3 separate regions of the Homo sapiens genome follow, and all the other regions are linked to region 3. The links are contacts of gene promoters, found by promoter capture Hi-C in blood cells and fetal thymus (Javierre and others, 2016). All regions are on one chromosome and are shown on one strand. Each heading gives the region's core, a stretch centred on a gene start or on the middle of the fragment in contact. The rest is flanking DNA. Distances are from core to core; before and after follow the strand shown. Region 1 overlaps CCDC33 (coiled-coil domain containing 33). Region 2 overlaps CCDC33 (coiled-coil domain containing 33). Region 3 holds the start of ISLR (immunoglobulin superfamily containing leucine rich repeat).

What was found. The method cuts DNA at HindIII sites, captures the fragments that hold promoters and counts their contacts. A CHiCAGO score of 5 or more calls a contact.
Region 1: a fragment that was not itself captured here is called in contact with the fragment with the promoter of ISLR in region 3 in 1 of 17 cell types (endothelial precursors); the score reaches 5.1 in endothelial precursors.
Region 2: a fragment that was not itself captured here is called in contact with the fragment with the promoter of ISLR in region 3 in 1 of 17 cell types (endothelial precursors); the score reaches 5.0 in endothelial precursors.

What each region holds. Positions count from the first base shown.
Region 1 is chr15:74,260,363-74,264,036 of GRCh38, reverse strand. It overlaps CCDC33 (coiled-coil domain containing 33), which reads right to left. Exons shown (of 19, transcript NM_025055.5): 3 at 1,464-1,597. Among named protein-coding and RNA genes, the nearest start is that of CCDC33, 26 kb to the right of the region's middle. RefSeq lists an enhancer at 1-736. The HindIII fragment of the contact is 1,056 bases long and covers 1,238-2,293 here.
Region 2 is chr15:74,284,852-74,288,497 of GRCh38, reverse strand. The region is part of intron 10 of CCDC33 (coiled-coil domain containing 33); the gene reads right to left. Among named protein-coding and RNA genes, the nearest start is that of CCDC33-AS1, 33 kb to the left of the region's middle. The HindIII fragment of the contact is 3,196 bases long and covers 683-3,646 here.
Region 3 is chr15:74,171,243-74,175,096 of GRCh38, reverse strand. ISLR (immunoglobulin superfamily containing leucine rich repeat) reads right to left here and starts at 1,387. Exons shown (of 2, transcript NM_005545.4): 1 at 1,078-1,387; 2 at 1-246. The coding sequence starts at 238. RefSeq lists enhancers at 1-665, 666-1,653, 1,654-2,642. The HindIII fragment of the contact is 10,197 bases long and covers 1-1,611 here.

The DNA of each region.
Region 1 (3,674 bases), core at 516-3,015, 89 kb before region 3:
GGGGTCACTGACCTTATTACATTTTTTCCTCTGTTACCCCAAGTATGTAGAGCCCAGGGCAGGATCCCAGCTCAGGTCCACTCATCATAACCTCTAACTTCCCACCAGCCACATAAATACATGCATGCATACACACAGAGCCACACACACGATCTATACATACTTGTGCACTGCAAGGCATACACCACCATCCAGATTCATCCAGACACACATATAACCACACTGTTGCAGCTAGACACACCCACGCGCACACACACATAAGACACACAGACATGCATGCCTACAAGTACAGACACAGCACACACCACATTCACACATGCGCATGAACCAGCATGCAGGCATTCACAAAGACATGCACACACAGGCACGCATGTGCCTCTGCATGAAATCCTAGGTCAATTTTTCCTCCTCTTTTGCATCTTCTTAAAGCATCCCAACAGCTCCACCTATCCCTTTACAGGCAGAAAAGAAAAATTATCTGGCTTGACCTAGAACTAGCTCCTTCCCCTTTTACGGAGGCTCCCCTTCCTGTTTCCTTTCTCCTCTCCCATAGTCTTCAGCTGGCTTTCTGCTCTGTGTGAGGAGAACAAGGAGATCTGTCTAGGTCCTGGCAAGATTTCAAGGGGGAGAGGCAAAGCCTGTCCTCTCAGGGAGAGACCACCTGCAAGAAGCAAGTCTGAGGTCCTGACTAGATAAGATCAGAGACATCGCCAGGCACCTCCAGTCTGTGCTGGCAGTGCCAGATGCGATGCCCCCCTACCCGGGCATCAGCCAATCAGTATTCCCTTGTGTCCAGCCTGAGCTCCCCCAGGAGAATGGAAATCCAACAGACCCACAGTGTGAAAGTAAATATAAGTGTGCACATGCATGTGTGTACATGGGCACCTCGTGGCTCAGGCTGACACCTGGGGAGGACTAGGCAGGAATAGGGATCCATTCTAGGGACATTTCAAATATTTTTTAAAAAATCAAATGGAAGCAGCGGGAACCCTGGAGCTGCAGTAAGAACATGCAATGCTGAGTCCTTGGTCCTTGGTCTTAAGCTTAAGCCAGTTAAATTCCCTGAACCTCGATGTTCTCTTAAGCAATGGGAGCAGCATTGCTCCTCCTGGGAGGTGGTGACTCCAATGAGTGATGTGTGGGGACGTGCCAGGAAGCTGTAATGTCCTGTTTCAGTAGGAGACAGCGCTAATAACAGCCATGAAAATAATAACAACAGTCATAAAAAAGATAAGCTTGCATTGTCTGGAAAATTCATTTATGTGGAACAACTCATTTTTCGAGCAGGATGGGGAGATGAGGCGTGACAGTATTATGATTTTTTCTAAGTGCTTTTAACTGAGCCCAAGGAGGTGTTCAGGTGGCTACCAGCTGCAGTGAGAGGGAGCCTGCTTCTTGCTCTAAGTCCTTGGCTGTGTTCACACCCTGCCTGCACATGCCGGCCCTGCCCAGCCCCTGCTTACCTTCTTGCCCTGCATCCTCAGCTTGGATCTCCACATTCACCGTGTCCCCCCAGATAGGGGCTCTGGTGGGCTCTGAGGTCACAGATGTGACTGCCTTGGAGCTCTGATTGTTCTTTTCCTCAGATGTGCTTTTCCTGGGGAGAGCAGGGGCAGGGTGAGTCAAAGGGAGGGGTTCTGTCTGCTGCTTGTCCCCATCCCAGGCTCCACTGTCCATAAATCTGAGTGAAAGGTGGACAGAATATGGAGAGCTCTGTCCCATGCATAGACACTTGTGTCATCCCAGGCCTCTCCCCCAGCTCTCCTGCCAGCCCAGGTGACCACACTGTCTCGCTGGCCACTACTGAGGCCTTCACTTAGTCACAAGCCTCTCACTTAGAGAGGCTCAGGGCAGGGGTAGGGATGGGGGTAGAGGGTAGATGCTTTGCCCGCCTGACTTCCTAGCCCTTGCCAGGGAGGGCTCTCCAGCAGGAGCCCGTGTGCATGGCCTCCCTCTTCTCTAGGTTCTGTTTCGGTGGGAGGAATCCTCTGGGCAGAGTGGCTGTGCGATGCCCCGCCTGGCTGTCCTCTCTTCTTCACCTTATTTCCCTAAACTTCTGGCCCAGATTTCCAGGCTCCACCCGGCAATCCCAGTTCTAAATGCTTGCAATGAAGCACGCACATCCTGCTGCCTTCTGAGATGCCTGCTGTGTGCAGGGCCTTGGGCTGGGCCCCTGGAGCTGGAAACCTGGAGCTGGGTCCAGGCCTGGGGGCAGGGGGTGGTGGAAAGGGCTTTCCAGCCCTCAAGCACTCAGATTGTTCAGGACCAGGCTGTATAAGGTGAGAGGTAAGCTTGGGCCCTCTGCATCCCAGTGCACCCCACAGATATCGGAGATCCAGAGCCGTCAAACGGCTCAGGGAGAGAGTGAATACTTCTTCTGTAGAAGAGGTTACTAGGCCAGGGCCATCCCCAGCGCTGCTCCATTAACTGCAGCAGTCATGGGCTGAGGAATCATCCCAGAGATCCTGTAGCAGGGGGAGCCACACCACACACCTTGCGGAGGGAGGCAAGACGCACTAATGGTACCCCAGGATGGGAACAAAGACGTCATCCCCACCAGCCCTTGTTTCACCCTCAAGGACCCCAAAGGGAGTGTGGGGCAGGCCAGTTGGCTCAGACCCCACCTTCTCTGTGCATTAGCAATACCAACATGGTTCTTCCCAGCCCAGCTTGTTCCTCTCCTCCAAGAAGCCCTCTGGAGTCCCCCGGCCCTCACTGTTCCCTCTGCCCTTTAGACTTAAGTGACGCTGTGACCTGGCTCCTTGCTCCCACTCATCACAGCCCTGCTCCTGTGGGTAACCATGCTTGCAGGAGCCCTTCTTCTGTGGGTGACCATGCTTGCAGGAGTTCCATCTCCAAGTTCCAGGGGTCAACTGAGGACTCCTGCTGTGCTTTGACTGAGGCAGTATGACACAGTGATTGTAAGAAGGACCCTGCAGCTGGGCATTTTGGGTTCCAAATCCCAGCTCTACCCCGTGCCAGCTGTGTGATGTTAGGCAAGGTACAGAACCTGTGGTGCCTTATTTTCTTCATCTATAAAACAGAGATGCTAACGGTGCCCAGCCTGCAGGGCGGTTGTGGGAAGGAAACGAATGAATATGTGTAGTGCCTGGCACATTGCTAAGTACCAAGAAAGTGTTAATAATTCTTAGTACCTTAAATTATTAAAATATAAATATGATTCCTGTTATTACCCCATAGCACCAGAGAGCTTAGCCTTATTGACCCTCCTGTGACCAGCCCCTTTGCCGTGGCGTGATTTTTCCCCATCATGCCCCCAGTTCTGGGTCTACAATTGGGAATGTCTGGCTGCTCGGGCCAAGGTGTGGAATCCTGGAAAGAGCACAGGCTTGGGAATGATTCAGAGCTGGGTTTGGAGCCCGCGTTTATCCTGGCGAGATCATCTCCCCTCTGCACCTACTAAGTTCCTCCTTTTTCAATAGTACCGCCCTGAGAGAGTGTTATAAGGACTGGAAAGAAAGCATGTTCAGCTCCTGGCATCCAGAAAGCCCCAGTTCATGTTATTCCCTCATTTGTGATACAAAACAGCTTGGGTGTTTTTGCAAGAGGACCTGCCTGAGGGCAGCATGAAGGGGAAGGAGCACTGAGTACAAGCTGGGGTGAGAAGGGGCATCTCCCAGAGAGCCGGAGTCCTTCTCAGATGAGCGTCCATC
Region 2 (3,646 bases), core at 1,031-3,530, 110 kb before region 3:
TTCAGCTGCACCAAAGGGGAGAATGTATTCAGAGAGAGGGAGTGATGTTCCTACTCTACCTCTAATGCTGATTGGGCCCCACAGTTTTGGGGGATACTTTAACAGGAATGTTGTCAAGAGGAGACAATCAGCAGGACAAGAATCAGAAACCAAGTGCTACAAAGAGGAAGAGGAATGAGAGTGGGTTCAGGCTGGAGATGCCATAAATAGTTTGCAAATGTCAGTAGGGCTGACAGGCCCTGACTTCTCTGGAGTTGGCCTCTGGGAGGAAAAGGCAGGGCCAGGGGGAGGAAATTGAAGAGAGACAGAAGGAAGTTTAGAAGGGAGCTAGTAGAGGATGGAGAGGGCATCCTGGGTGGTAATGAACTCTCTGTCGGGAAATGACCAAGTAGAGTCTGTCAAACTCTGTGTGTGTTCTGGAGGGACTGTTCAGTTCCTTCTCTCTGAAGTGGGCAGCATGGGAGTTGCATGATCACCAAGGGAGGCCAATATTGTCCCCAAGGCAGGGAACACTATAGGGGGATTCAGGCATTGTGGAAAGCAGGTAGGAGCCTCCGTCATGGCAGCGCAGGAGGAGAGGTGGGATGGCCAGCCCTGCTCCGACACAGAGTCTGTGACCTGGGGGCCAGGTTGGCCTTGTGAAAGCACAGACTCTCATGTCTCTCCTGCCCCATCCTAAGCTTCCTTTGATTTGTTTGTTTTCTGTTTTTAGAGACAGTCTTGCTCTGTCGCCCAGGCTGGAGTGCAGTGGTGTGATCTCGGCTCACTGCAACCTCCGCCTCCCAGTAGCTGGGATTACAGGCTCCTGCCACCAAGCCCAGCTAATTTTTGTATTTTTAGTAAAGACGGGGTTTCTCCATGTTGGCCAGGCTGGTCTCAAACTCCTGACCTCAGGTGATCTGCCCACCTCGGCCTCCCAAAGTGCTGGGATTACAGGTATACAGATTTAATCTCTCCAGAGCCACCACGCCCAGCTCTAAGTTTTCTTTGGATGGGATGGGAAGAGCTCTACACTGGACCTAGAACCTGAGCAGGTGAGGGAAAGGGCACCTGTGGGTAAGGGGTGGATCTGTCTCCTCTGCCTCCTGCCAAATGACCTGAGGCAATGAGAGGATAGGAGGGCAGAGGCTTTGGGTGTGGAAAGGAGGGCAGTGAGGGATGGTGTGAGATAGTGGCAGGGAAAGGGTCTCTCTCTCTGGATCCATCCTTATGGTAGTGTTTTCACAGATGGAGTCTTGGGGGTGGGAACAGAGCCTTCAGAGGGCAGAACCAGTGGAGGAGACTGCTGTGCTGCCCTGGGCACTGGCCCATTCAGGCCGCTGTGCTTGGGGAAGAAATGGAGGGAGGTTTGTGTTGCAGTTTCTCTAAGGACCATCTCAGGGGTGTCAGGTGTGGCTTACAAAAAATCCATAAAAATTCTTCAAAAGCCAGCATGATGCTGCCTGTCCCCTGCCCTTTCCTCTATATTTGCTAAGTGGCCACTTGTCCTCACTCTGGGCTGGTCTCCAGAGAGATCTTTGTAACTAGTCTGAAAAGAAGCCACCAGAGTAGCATCAAAGACTTGCCCCCCTCTCTCCCTATGAGGGGAAGAGGGAGGGGGAAGGTCAGATGGGACCATGGCACCTGCCCCTCCCCTCAGTGGTGGCAGCAGGTGCCACTGCCACCTCTCCTCAAATGCACCCTCTCTATACTCCCAGGAAGCCAGGGGGTTTCACGTCATCCCAGCATGTCTGTGGGCTGTGGGCTGAGGAGGGTGTGGCCACCCATCTGAGAGGCCCTACTTCTGCCTGGTGCCCTATCTGGGCAAGGTGATGGATCCCAAATCTTAAATGCAAGAGGAGAAATGTTGCTGTATACCCAGATGACGGCATGAACTTGTCCCACCTCATGGGGAGGTGCATTTCCAGGCAGAGAGGCAGGAACTGATGCAGTGAGCACCTACTGTGTGCATGCCAGGCTCCAATCCACAAGGTCAGCCCAGGAAACCTGGGCAGTGTGGGCCTCACTTCAAAGAGGCTGGCTGCAAGCTGGAGGGCACCCAGGATGCTGTGGGATCTCGAAACCAGTTCATTAAGAGAGCCAAGCTGCTTTGCCTGGGGAAGTGTAGACTCCCCAGAGACCACATCACACTCTTCAAAGAGAAGAGGCTGAGATCAGAGGAGGAATGGAGGAGACCAAAGGTTTCTGTGTGTGTGTGTATGTGGAGTAGCCATAGGCTCATGGAGTTTTTTTGTTTGTTTGTTTTTGTTTTTGAGACACAGTCTTGCTCTGTTGTCCAGGCTGGAGTGCAGTGGCATGATCTTGGCTCACTGCAACCTCTACCTCCCAGGTTCAAGTTATTCTCCTGCCTCAGCCTCCCAAGTAGCTGGGATTACAGGCACCCACCACCACACCCAACTAATTTTTGCATTTTTAGTAGAGACAGGGTTTCACCATGTTGGCCAGGCTGGTCTTGAATTCCTGACCTCATGATCCGCCCGCCTCAGACTCCTAAAGTCTTGGGATTACAGGCGTGAGCCACCGCACCCAGCCAGACTCATGGATTTTTAGAGCCTAATGGACCTCAAAGGCCAGTCCCCACTGAATGTGCAATAAAGGGAAGTTTTCTGTGTATGTGTTTTTGTATATGAGTGTACATGTTTTTCTAGTTTTTGTGTGATCTGTGTGTGTTCATATACGTACTCACCTACACACACAAGCCATCTTAATGCAGATCACTTTAAGCAGCAAATGACTAGAGAAGTCCTACCAGAGGGTGAAAAACGAACCCATCACCAACCAACCACCTTCAAGTGCAATATTCCAAACCAGAGACCACCACCTCTTGCCATTCACTGAGTCTGCAGGCTTTGTTATCTAGTCTGCCCTCAAAAGTGTTGGCTGACTATGTGATCTATGTAGGAGGCTTGCTGAGGTCGCCCTGCAGCCTCGGGGGCAAAGCCAGGAGCTTGGGGCAGAGGGAGGTCCCCAGGAGGCAGGTTGAGATCATGTGGGGTGGCCATTTCTATCACTCAGCCATAGGAAGGCCTGCTTCTGGAGGTAGTGAGCTGTCTGTCATGGCAGCACAGGAGGAGAGACTGGGATGACCACGTGCTGCCAGGGAGATTGCTGTCCAGTGTGGGCTGTTGAGAGAGGCCACTGCTGTCTCTGCCTATTTGCAAATTTCACCATGCTGCTTCTGAAAGCTCTGAGAATGGGTGACGTGGTAGTGGCGGGTGTGGGGAAGCTGTGTTCACCAAAATGTCCAATTATCCAGGACAGCCTGTGCCCAAAACTCCTGGACATGGAGGCTCATGGAAAGAGCCTATGTCCTCAGACTGGGGCTGGGCCCAAATACGGCACGCGCATTCATTTCTCCTGAAGCATTTCCGCTCTGTGACAGCACTGACCATGTCTGACCACATGCAAAGAGCTACCCCTAGGATGGAGTTGTTGACCATGTGAACGAGGGGCCTGAGAGGCCCAATATCACAAGCCTCGGCAGCTGGAGTGTCCACAGGACTCTAAGACCTCCAGGTGTCAGGTGGTGGCTTCTGGACCCATTATGCAATATTTGATTTAAAGGGTGGAAGAGTTGATGGCCCCAGCCCTGCTGCTGCCTTCCCAAAGTCTAGGATGCAGAGATGAATACCAGGTACCTTCCATG
Region 3 (3,854 bases), core at 138-2,637:
ACAGCGACTGCAGCAGGGGCACCTCCCTGAAGGCACCCTCCGGCAAGCCTGGCAGCCGGTTGGCTGACAGGCTCAGTGTAGTCACATTGGCCGGGAAGCCAGGCGGCACGGATTCTAGGTCGCGGTAGGCACAGTCGGCGATCTGGAAGCCATACTTTTCCCCACAGTCGCAGGGCTCAGGGCAGGCCTGAGCCAGGCCCAGGAGAAGCGCCCACCAGAGCAGATGCAGCTCCTGCATGGTGCCTCCTGCAGAGAAAGGCATGTCACCCAGGGGATCCCGAGAACCTGCCAAAGGGACTCATTCCTCCCACAAGCCCAGCCAGAGCTCTTTCCCATCAGGAGGCCCTGTCCCACATAACCCAGCTAAATCCCAACACCACCTAGCCCACCGCCCCCATCCTACGGAAGGAGAAACTGAGGCCAAGAGAAGGGCGGAGACTTGCCCGAGGTCACGCAGCCAGGCAGGATGAAGACGGGATGGAAGAGGACCCCAGCTCCTCCTCCGAGTGGAGAGTTCTCCCTGCCTCGGCCTGTTCCTAGCTGACTTTATGACTTGAAATCTGTTTTCCAGCCACCCCCCTCCCCCAGCACTTTGCAGAACCTCCCCCTGCCCTCCCACATCCTGGCCGCAGTCCCTCCCACCGGAGCCCCCCATAGGTATGCTTTGCCTTGGCCCAGACGAGGCCCCTTGTGCAGTGCACACCACCCCCATCCACTCCACCCGCCCTCTCCCGCTCCTCCGGCCATGACCGCAGCAGACACCAGGCCTTTTCTGTGGAATCACACCCGTGGCCTGTTCTGTTCAAACTTAGCCAGGCAGCTGCCTAAATAAACCCCCGCCAGGACCTCTCAGCTGACTTGGGTGAGGCCAGAGGCTCAGCCCAAACGCAGCTGGGATTTCTGGGGCCTCAGTTGTGGGTTGTGGAAGAAGCAGATGCCCCCTGGACGGCTCCAAGCTAGGGATTGTCCCACGCACCTCAGACCAGCAGGGATGGACCAAGAGGGAACCAGCCCCTATGTCCAACAGGCCTCCCGCTCCCGCCGCTGGCCCTGGAGCCCTCCTCCCCACTGGCTTACCTTCAAGCTACTCTTAGTCAAGCGGAGCCTCTTCTAAGGTGGAACCAAAAAGCAACAGAGGACCTTAGCCCTGAGAGTCTGCAGGGCCACGGGCGCCCAAGGGAGGACTTGGATGCTGGGGCGAGGGGCAGCCTGGTCCCACCCCACCTTCGATGTGCAGGCCTGTGCCCTCCCTGCCCCAGACAGGGTGCCTGGAACCATCCACTGAGAGGAGGCGGCAGGGAGGAGCCCGGGGCAGCCCGCGCACTCCCTCCTTCCAGCAAAACAACTGCTTCTCTGCAGCAACAAGGACCTGTGTTTCATAAGTGACACCAGAAACTTGAGGGGGGAAGAGATGCCAAATTTTTTTGGGTTGTGTTTTTTCTCTCTCTCTCACTCACTTTTAGCAGCTTCAACTTCCTTAAAGACACAGCACTGTCTGGAAAGGACCCAAGAAATGATGGGGCCAGGAGGATTTTAGCGGGGGAAGGGCGAGAAATTGAATCTCATGGAAGGTGGGAGATTTCCACTTCAAACAAGAAAAAACGGGAAGCTTTTGTCCAAGCCAGGGTTGTATGTGTGTTGGTGTGTATACGTGTGTGTGTGTGTACAAGTTTGTGGGTGTGAGGGTGCGTATTTCTGGATTTGTATGTGTGTTTGCATGGATGTGGGTATGAAACCATGTACATGAGTTTGTGTGTGAGTGTGTGTGTGTGTCTGTCTTGGTGTGGGTTTGTGTGTGGAAGTGAGTGTGCATCCATGTGTGTGTGTTTCAGTGAAAAGCCAAGAAGGCCAAAGTGTACAAAGCAGATACCAACCCTTCGGTGAAAGCCAAGATGTTAGGCATTTTTTTTTTTTTTAAGAAAACATATCCTGCTGGCTCTGAGACTGAGCTGCGCTAAATGCATGTTGTTGTCCAGGGAGCTCCCAAGACTCCAGGCCCCGCCCCTCACTGCGCTCCCCACTGGCTGGGGAGGAAACAGGGAGGCCTGGCTCAGAAAACTCAGGGCGGGAGCCTGTTGACCTTCAGTGCTCCTGGCTGGGATTCTGAGCCACCCAGGCCCACTGCCCACTGGGCACCCAGAGGGGAGGCCAAGGGGCCGCACTCCCGGAGAGTTCTCTCTGTGTCCCCCACAGGGCCCAAAATCCCACTGTTGGTGCTGGACATCTACGCGGTCAGCATCGGCCTCTCTGAGCTCCACTGTTCCAACACCAACTGTGTGGAAGGGGCAGACGCCTCCAGGGTGAGGATATGTGACCCCTTTTCCAAACGGGAAGGCCCAGGGGAGGGGAATGGGGAAACAAAAGAGGCCCAAAACGAGGGAGCTGGAAGAGAAACCGAAAGATGAAGGAGCCCAGAAAAGAACTTTGTAGACTGAAGAATTTTGCTCTCCACAGACAAGCCTACCGTATCCCCTCAGTAGCCCTCCCCAAGCTTCCTTGGCCTTCCATCTGATAACTGGTTGAATTCTGCTCATGACTCAACTTACCCTCTCAGCAGGGCCAAGGGCAGACAGGGCTCATCTTTGGCTGAAAGCATCCCCAGGAAGCCTGCCCCAGCTCATCACACCCCATTCCCTGTCACCAAGCAAGGCCACAGAAGTCCCCAGCATGCTGCCTGCAAAACACCCGAGTCTGATGCTGAGGATATTATTATGGTCCAATGGAGAGCACCCTCTCTTTCCCCTGCAGAGGAAGCCCTCTCTTGCATCATCCTGACTGTGCTGGAGAATTTCTAGGAAAGTCCTGAATTTGGTGGGCCAACCAGAGGCTGCAAGAAACACATCCAGGGTTCAGTAAACCAGAGGGGAGACTCAGTGACCTCAGTGTCAGTCAGGGAGGGCTTCCTGGTGGAGGGGGCTTCACTATGTTCTGCACAGCCCATACACACACCCTCACCTGCACAAAGTCTGTGCCACCAGCTTTACCTCCAGGGTGCTCTGAGGAGCTCATAGTTCCCACCCCACCTCCCTCCTTGCAAGCACATCAGGGTCAGAGTACAAGCACCTCCTCAGCCCTCAGTTCCCAGTGACTGTTCTCTCAGACATTCCTGACTTTTCTTCATAGCTCCTCCTATAAGCTGTGATTATTTATTCATGCGTGCTTAATGTGCGACCCCTTACTAGAGAGGAAGCCCACTGAGGGCAGAGGCCTTAACTTCCCAGGTGCTATTGATCTCCAGCACAGGGAAGACACTCTGTAAGCGCCCCCTTCATGGCATGATGGACAAGTTGGGTGGTCATCAGAAGGAAGCATTTTAGAGCTCACCCACTTCATCTCCTCATCAACTTACAGATAGGGCCTTTGGGCCCAGGCTAGGGAAGGGGCATGCCCAAGACATTTTAGAGAATATTTCATACAGTGTAGGAGACCCATGCTCTGTTGGGTGGGTGAGTATGTCAGCAGCCTTCTGGGGGCAGGGAGTCTGTCCCCTCATTCCCTACCTAAGACCTTAATGACAGCCAAACACTAAGCTCAGACTCCCACCTCAAAACAGATGTGGGGGGCTGAGGGCGGGAAAAGTGGGAGGGACCAGCCCACCTGGGCAGAAATGAGACTGTGCGTGCTGGTCACTGATGTATCTTCCTGGTCTGCTCAGGTCCTGCCACTGCCTGCAAGGTGTGGCCATACCCGCTTCCACCAGGAAGGACAATAAGGCCGCCAGGATCTCAGCCAAGGACTATTGACTCTCCAAGGTGTCTCACAGTGGGACAGGTGGGCCTGCTCCTCAGCAGAGCCCAGGAGCAGTTGTGCAGGCCTCTGAGGATGGGGCGTATGACCTCCTGGGTTGCCCCTCT